2 separate regions of the Homo sapiens genome follow, and region 2 is linked to region 1. Evidence: promoter capture Hi-C in 16 types of primary human blood cells and fetal thymus (Javierre and others, 2016). All regions are on one chromosome and are shown on one strand. Each heading gives the region's core, a stretch centred on a gene start or on the middle of the fragment in contact. The rest is flanking DNA. Distances are from core to core; before and after follow the strand shown.

Region 1 (3,872 bases), core at 406-2,905:
GGAGGCTGAGGGAGGAGAATCACTTGATCCCGGGAGGCAGAGGTTGTAGTGAGCTGACACCATGCCGTTGCACTGCAGCCTGGGCGACAGAGTGAGACTCTGTCTCAAAAAAAAAAGAAAGGGTTATAAAGTACATTGATGGATTGATGGGACAAAGGAATTTGTTTTTTTTTTTTTTGTTTTTTTGAGACGGAGTCTCACTCTTATTGCCCAGGCTGGAGTGCAGTGGCACGATCTTGGCTCACCGCAACCTCTGCTCCTGGGTTGAAGCAATTCTCCTGCCTCAGCCTCTCCAGTGGCTGGGATTACAGGCACACACCACCACGCCTGTTAATTTTGTATTTTTAGTAGAGACTGGGGTTTCTCCATGTTGGTCAGGCTGGTCTCGAAATCCCGACCTCAGGTGATCTGCCCACCTCAGCCTCCCAAAGTGGTGGGATTACAGGCGTGAGACACCGCGCCTGGCCCGGGACAAAGGAAATTAATGTTCAGCCTAGTAAACTAAATTTCCTGAATTTGCTACATCCTCGTTCTTATGACACACTAAAATAGGAAGTGTGTGTGTGTGTGTGTGTGTGTGTGTGTATGAAAATAAAGTGTTAATGTACATGTAGCAAAATGTTAACAATTGTTGAATCTAGGTGAAGGGAGGTCAATGCAGTATTCTTACAAGTTACTATATCTCAAATTTCTTCAAGATAAAAAGCTAATAAAAATGGTGGGTAACCATAGCACAGTAAAAAGAAAAAAGTGGGTGTACCATTTGACCTCTTATTCTACTATTAGGAGTCAGTCTATCCTAAAGATAAAGGAATTTTCAAAAGTTTTTGCCTTTGGGATTTTGGGGAAAAAAACGGGCTTGAGGTAAATCCAAATAAAAACAAATGAGCCTGGGGGGATTTCTGTCCTAATATTCCTCTAAATGGGACCTGGGAAGGCTTTTGAAAAATATATAGGCTATCTCAGAAAAGTTCCAAATAAATTATGTAGCTGCTCCACCCTAATAAGGAAGTTGAGCATAGCTTCCCACTCCCTAGGTGTGGGCTTTGTATAGTGGCTTCCTTCCTAAGACTACAGTATGGAAAGGGGGTTAAAAAAGGTAACTTCAGAGTGGAGAAACCTACAAACCCTACACTTTATTCAGGTAATCAAGGTTGACATGAATAGTCAGAAATCATGTATCCCCCTTTTTTTTTTCTTTTGGTAGAGACGGGGTTCCTCTATGTTGTCCAGCCTGGTCTCGAACTTGAGGTCAAGCGATACACCCGCCTTGGTCTCCCAAAGTCTCCGGATTGCAGGCGTGAGCCACCACGCCCGGCCAACAATCATGTACCCCTAAGCCCATAACCCTGTGTAATTATGCGAAAAATTCCAATAAAGGCACATTCTCCAATATACCTAACCAGTACTCCTCAAAACAGCCCGACTAATTTCAGATAGAGGAACTCCTTATCTTTTCTTCCTCCTACCCAAGATCCCAGTTTAGGAAAAAAATACCGGTCAGGTCACGAGTCAGCGACGTAGAAGGACCCGAGGACGCGCCCACAGGCCGGGACAGGGCGGGACTTCCTGGGCGTCGCTCTCTTCCCATTGGCTGAGAAGGGTCATGAGGATGAACTGTGCAGTCACCTGGCAGGAACCGGAACCCGCGGTTATAAAGTAAAGGAACCCGAGATCTGCGCAGGGGTTCCCTTTGCCGATTTCTCTCACCTCACCTTTCAAACCTAAACTCGAGCCTACTGTTCACCGGCCTAGCATTGCTCTCGCCATGGCTCTCAGCGATGCTGACGTGCAAAAGCAGGTGAGGGGCTTGGTTGGGTCTTACGAAGCCGCGGCGGCAGTCCCGGGGAGTGGGCTGGAGCCCGCCTAGGGAAGGCCGCGGGCCTTGAGCCGCCCAGATGCCGCAGGAAGGTCCCTTGCTCCAAGTCACCAGATCCAAGAGGTCGGCCTGAGGACGGAGATTTGCCCCGCAGCTCATGTGACTTTTGCTCGGGTCTTGGGCACTGCCCGCTTGCCTGCGCGCTGCCTTCTTGAACGCCCTGGCTCTTTGCCTCCCACCTCAGCATTCCCTGTTTTCCAAGGGTATTCACTGTGCCTAGTCGGACAGAGATCTGTGCAAGGATTGAAAACAGCCTTGTGGCCAGGGGCAGTGGCTCACGCCTGTAATCCCAGTATTTTGGGAGGCCGAGGCGGCCGGATCACCTGAGGTCAGGAGTCCGAGACTAGCCTGGCCAAAATGGTGAAACCCCGGTCTCTACTAAAAATAGAAAATTAGCCGGACGTGGTGGCGCGCGCCTGTAATCCCAGCTACTCGGGAAGCTGAACCCGGAGGCGGAGGTTGCAGTTAGCCGAGATCGCGCCTTTGCACTCCAGCATGGGCGACAGGGCGAGACTCCCTCTGGAAAAAGAAAAAAAAAAAACAAACCAGCCTTGTCACTTTTTTTTTTTTTAACCCTGAGGGAAATGCTTAAGGCTATATGATAGGAAACAGTGCGGAGGGAAGAGACCTGCTTCCAACCAGTGTTTTGACAAGGTCGTTCACTTTATGAACTGTGTTTTTTTCTTTTTTTCTTTTTTTTTTTTTTGAGACGGAGTCTCACTCTGTCGCCCAGGCTGGAGTGCAAGGGCGCGATCTCGGCTCACTGCAACCTCCGCCCCGGGTTCAAGTGATTCTCCTGCCTCAGCCTCCCTAGAAGCTGGGATTACAGACTCGCGCCCCAAGCCCGGCTAATTTTTGTATTTTTTTTAGTAGAGGCAGGGTCTCACCATATTGGCCTGGCTGGTCTTGAACTCCTGACCTCAGGTGATCTTCCCACCTGGGCCTCCCAAAGTGCTGGGATTACAGGCATGAGCCAACGCGCCAGGCCTGTATGTACTGTTAATCTTCATTTTGGGGAAGTCCCCTCTATCATAATGGATTGTAATGATTGGTCTCCCACTAATGTGTGTGTTAACATTTGTGAGATACAGGCTGGGGCCGGGCATGGTGGCTCACGTCTGTAATACCAGCACTTTGGGAGGCTGAGGAGGGCGGATCACCTGAGGTCAGGAGTTCGAGACGAGCCTGGCCAGCATGGTGAAACCCCATCTCTATTAAAAATACAAAAAATTAGCCGGGCATGGTGGCGGGCGCCTGTAGTCCCAGCTACTCGGGAGGCTGAGGCAGGAGAATGGCGTGAACCCGGGAGGCCGAGCGACCCTGGGCGGCAGAGCGAGACTCCCTCTCAAAAAAATAAAAAAAAAAAGATTGTCTGGGCCTAGTGGGGTGCGCCTGTAGTCCCAGCTACTCAGGAGGCAGAGGCAGGAGAATCGCTTGAACCCGGCAGGCGGAGGTTGCAGTGAGCCAAGATTGTGCCACTGCACTCCAGCCTGGGTGACAGAGTGAGACTCCATCTCAAAAAATTTTAATATTAATAAACACAAATACACGCCAGGTGTGGTGGCTCACACCTGTAGCCCCCAGCACTTTGGGAGGCTGAGGTGGGAGGATCGCTTGATCCCAGGAGTTCAAGACCAGCCTGGGCAACATAGACCTTATCTCTAAAAAATTTTTTCTTAAAAAATAAGCCAGGCTGTCTGGGCATGGTTGCTCATGCCTGTAATCCCAGCACTTTGGAAGGCCGAGGTGGGCATATCACCTGCGGTCAGGAGTTCCAGACCAGCCTGGCCAACGTGGCAAAACCCTGTCTCTACTAAAAATACAAAATTAGTGGGGCGTGCTGGCATATGCCTGTAATCCCAACTACTAGGAGGCTGAGGCAGGAGAATTTCTTGAACCCGGGAGGTGGAGGTTATGGTGAGGCGAGATCACACCATTGCTGCCTGGGCAACAGAGCGAGACTGTCTCAAAAAAAAAAAAAAATTGCCAGGTG
Region 2 (3,872 bases), core at 1,373-3,872, 140 kb before region 1:
CCCCGTCTCTACTAAAAATACAGAAAATTAGCTGTGCGTGGTGGGGGGCGCCCATAGTCCCAGCTACCTGGGAGGCTGAGGCAGGAGAATGGTGTGAACCCGGGAGGTGGAGCTTGCAGTGAGCCGAGATCGCGCCACTGCACTCCAGCCTGGGGGACAGAGCGAGACTCCGTCTCAAAAAAAAAGTGGGGGAAAGATCACCATCTGGATCATAGACCAGACCTGAAAGGGGGCTGGTCACTTTTAGGTACGTAGAGTAACTGGAAAGACACACTGTCCTAGTGGAAGCCGTGGGTGGCCTCTGTGGCTGCTGTGGCCCCAGGGGAGGAGATACCTGTCTTCTGGGGCTGCGGCTCAGTCTGGCTCCGGGTCCGGATCACCAGGGAACTTTCTGCAGAGCATCCTGCCTGGGCTTTGCCTGGTCTGCATGGGATCCCCCAGCCTGTGGCTCAGCCCGCTTCTATGCTCATAGCCATGCTGGCGCCGGGGGCAGTCCTTGGCTTCCCTCCTCGTTGGCTTAACAAACCCCCTTTCTTCAGAGGAAGGAAAGTGTGCCGTGGCCTGGTGGGACAGGCTGGGCTTGGAGGTGCCAAATGTCCTGTGTGCTTGGGGACAGCTGCTGAACCTCCCCGCCGCCGTCACGGCCCTTGGCCAAGAGCTTTCATCCAAGGCTGGCAGTAGTTGCTCTATTTCTGTTATGGGGCACCTCTGCATCTGGGTTTGGTTTAATTTGTGTAACTGAATGTCTCATTTTATTCCTCACATTCATTCTGTGAAGTTTCCCTTGTCTGGGTGAGTGTTCAGGTGACTACAACCCTGGGTCCGGGATGGGCGGTGTTCCAGGAGCTTCTGCTTGGGCCTCTCCCATTCTCCCCCAAAACCAAAGAGAAGGGAAAACCCTTTGTAAGTGGATGTCACATGTCAGGTGCTTTTTCTGATACTGCATGTGATCCCACAAGGCAGGGAGTGTCCCCTTTTACAGACGGGGAAGGTGAGATCACATTGCAGGTTCAAAGCCCGACATGACCTGTCCACCTTTACAGCTTCCCTCTCTGGGCTGGGAGTGCGTGAGGGCTTCTTAAAATGCAGATGGACTTGGGGGATTGAGCTTCTCTGGGGTTCTGGTGTTTTTGTAGGGAGAGCCATCTGGGGTCAGGGCTGGGGTGGGGACAGCAGGAGAACAGGACAGGAGTGGCAACCCAGGGCCAGGGAAGGGAGTAGGCAGGGGTAGCATATGGGGGTGGAAAGAAAGGGGCCAGTGGCACGAAGGGCCCTGGGAGGCAGCAGCGTGTCCCTCCTGGGGGTAAGTCCAGGAAGGTGGCCATCCCCGAGGAGCTCCGTTCCTGTGACAATGAGGCTAGGCCTGAGGGCACCGGAGGCCAGCGGGCAAGTGCACACCCCCAAGCCTGGCGGGGCACCACGTGACCAGGCCTGGTATTGGGACTGGGAGTGGCTCCTGCACCAGCTGGCATCTGCCTAGAGACAGGAAGGTGGGTGCCTCCTGGGTTCAGCTGGGAACTCTGAGCTTTGGGTGCTGGAGGTCACTGCGTTTGGGATGGCTGCCTCCTGGACCCAGCTGCCTCTGTGTGTGGAGTCAGTAAGGCACCGTCCTGGCTGCGGAACTGAGGCAGGCATGCTATGAGAAGATAAAATTGCCTTAACAACTGTCCCCAGGATCCTTCCAGCAGGCACTTCCTTGCTGTGCCCTGGAAAAGCGGGGTGGCACTCTGGATGACAGCACAGCCTCAGGGTGCTTCTCTGTGGCCCACACACCCTTCCGGCCTGATGGCCACGTCCGTTCCTGTTTACCCAAGCCCCACTTCCCCTGAAATCCAGGCAGGGAGAGATGGGGCCTGGCTGTGAGAAACCTGGCCCCAGGTGTCACCATTTCCCCAAAAGCCTTGTTTCTCCCTCTGGGTATCCCTGAGGACCCCTGCAGACATCCAGCCCCAAACCCGGCCAACTGAGCAGGGAGCCCAGCTAGGGGCCTTTGTGGAAGGGTCACCCGTGTACTCACACCAGCAGCCAGCCGCTCCTGGGTCATCAGCCCCTCCATAGGAGAGGGGAGGCGTTTCTGCCAGGGGCTGGGTGGCATTTCTGCCAGGCAGGGGCATGGCGTTGGCACGGCACAGGCCCTGCTGTGCTCTGTGAGGCTCTGCCCTGACTTGGACTCTGCCTGGGATGTGGTGAAAGCCTTGTTCTTTATTTATTTAGTTATTATTTATTTATTTATTTATTTATTTATTTATTTTTGAGACGAGTCTCACTCTGTCGCCCAGGCTGGAGTGCAGTGGCACGATCTCTGCTCCCTGCAAGCTCCGCCTCCCAGGTTCACGCCATTCTCCTGTCTCAGCCTCCTGAGTAGCTGGGACTACAGGCGCCCACCACCACGCCCGGCTAATTTTTTTTTTTTTTTTTTTTGAGACGGAGTCTCGCTCTGTCGCCCAGGCTAGAGTGCAGTGGCGCGATCTCGGCTCACTGCAAGCTCTGCCTCCCGAGTTTCACGCCATTCTCCTGCCTCAGCTTCCCGAGTAGCTGGGACTACAGGTGCCCACCACCATGCCGGCTAATTTTTTCTATTTTTAGTAGAGAAGGGGTTTCACCGTGTTAGCCAGGATGGTCTCGATCTCCTGACCTCGTGATCCACCCGCCTCGGCCTCCCAAAGTGCTGGGATTACAGGCGTGAGCCACCTTGCGGCCCAGCCTTGTTCTTTATGACAGAGTCTACAGAGAGTTCAGGGAGGGGCGGACCAGGAGGCTCACCAGAGGCTCACCAGGGATTCTGGAGTAGCTGAGGGACACCTGCCTTCCCCTGCCATCCACCATGCCCCACCCAGAAGCCCAGGGCCTGGGCAGGGGAGGGAGGCAGGACTCCCGGGTCACAAAGACCTGGAGCATAGGGGTCCACTGACTTCTGGGGCCTGTGGTGGAGCCTCCGACCTCTGGGAGGGGGCCCCAGTCACCTGAAGAGGCTCTTGCCTCCTCATGTCTCCTCCTGCTGGCTGCCTTTTCAAAAACCGTTTGATTGAGACATACTGCACATGCCATAAAATTCACCCATCAAAGGGCACAGTTCAGTGGCTTAGTATATACACGGTGTGCGACCGTCACCACCGCCTACAGGCAGAACATTTCAGTAACCCAAAGAGAAGCTCCAGACACACTGGTGGCTGCTCCGCAGCCCTGGCAGCCCTAATCTTTCTGTCTATGGAGTTGCACATTTAGGACATTTCATACTAATGGAATCACACACTACGTGGTCTTTTGTGACTGACTTCTTTCATGTAGCATATTTTCAACTCATGTTAACTGCTGTAACTCATGTTACAGTAGGTGTCAATGTTTCCTTCATTTTTTATTTTGTATTTTTTGTAGAGACAGGGTCTCACTGTGTTGCCCAGGTTTGCCTCAAACTCCTGGGCTCAAGTGATCCTCCTGCCTTGGCCTCCCACAGTGCTGGCCTTTTCTTGGCTACCAGAGGCAAATTCAAGCAGCAATGGAACTTTTCACTTCGCGGACGCTGTTTCTCCGTTTTCTCTCCGTGTCTCTGTTTCCCCTGCCCCTGACTCTGTGTTCTGTTGGTTTCGGGCTTACCCATGGCTTGGTGGCATCAGTGATTGAGCATTGGTTTGTGGTCATATTGTTTTGCTCATCTTTGTAGGCGGATGACAGAGATCAGTTCTCTGTGGTCAGATACGGAGAATCTGGATGATCAGACTTCGTTCTCTGTGTCCTTAGCCTCTTTTGAGCTCAATTCAATTCAGAATTTTGTGTCCACCGGGAAGGATACCTCTTTGACACCTGGTCCAGGGACTTTTCCAGTTTCTGTGTTTACTCTTGCCCTGGGGCTGAAGTTGTAATTCAGAAAGGCC

Evidence for each region. Contacts are between HindIII fragments. The CHiCAGO score rates a contact against its expected background, and 5 or more counts as called.
Region 2: a contact is called between a fragment that was not itself captured here and the fragment with the promoter of ATP6V1E1 in region 1, in 1 of 17 cell types (neutrophils). The highest score is 6.5, in neutrophils.

Annotation. Positions count from the first base shown.
Region 1 is chr22:17,626,532-17,630,403 of GRCh38, reverse strand. ATP6V1E1 (ATPase H+ transporting V1 subunit E1) reads left to right here and starts at 1,655. Exons shown (of 9, transcript NM_001696.4): 1 at 1,655-1,801. The coding sequence starts at 1,769. It also overlaps a transcript of BCL2L13 not described here. RefSeq lists enhancers at 1,530-1,699, 1,641-1,730, 1,811-1,960. The HindIII fragment of the contact is 8,319 bases long and covers 1-3,872 here.
Region 2 is chr22:17,767,422-17,771,293 of GRCh38, reverse strand. All of the region lies in intron 1 of BID (BH3 interacting domain death agonist), which reads left to right. Among named protein-coding and RNA genes, the nearest start is that of MIR3198-1, 5.1 kb to the right of the region's middle. RefSeq lists enhancers at 2,721-2,780, 2,851-2,900, 2,921-2,970. The HindIII fragment of the contact is 6,348 bases long and covers 1-3,872 here.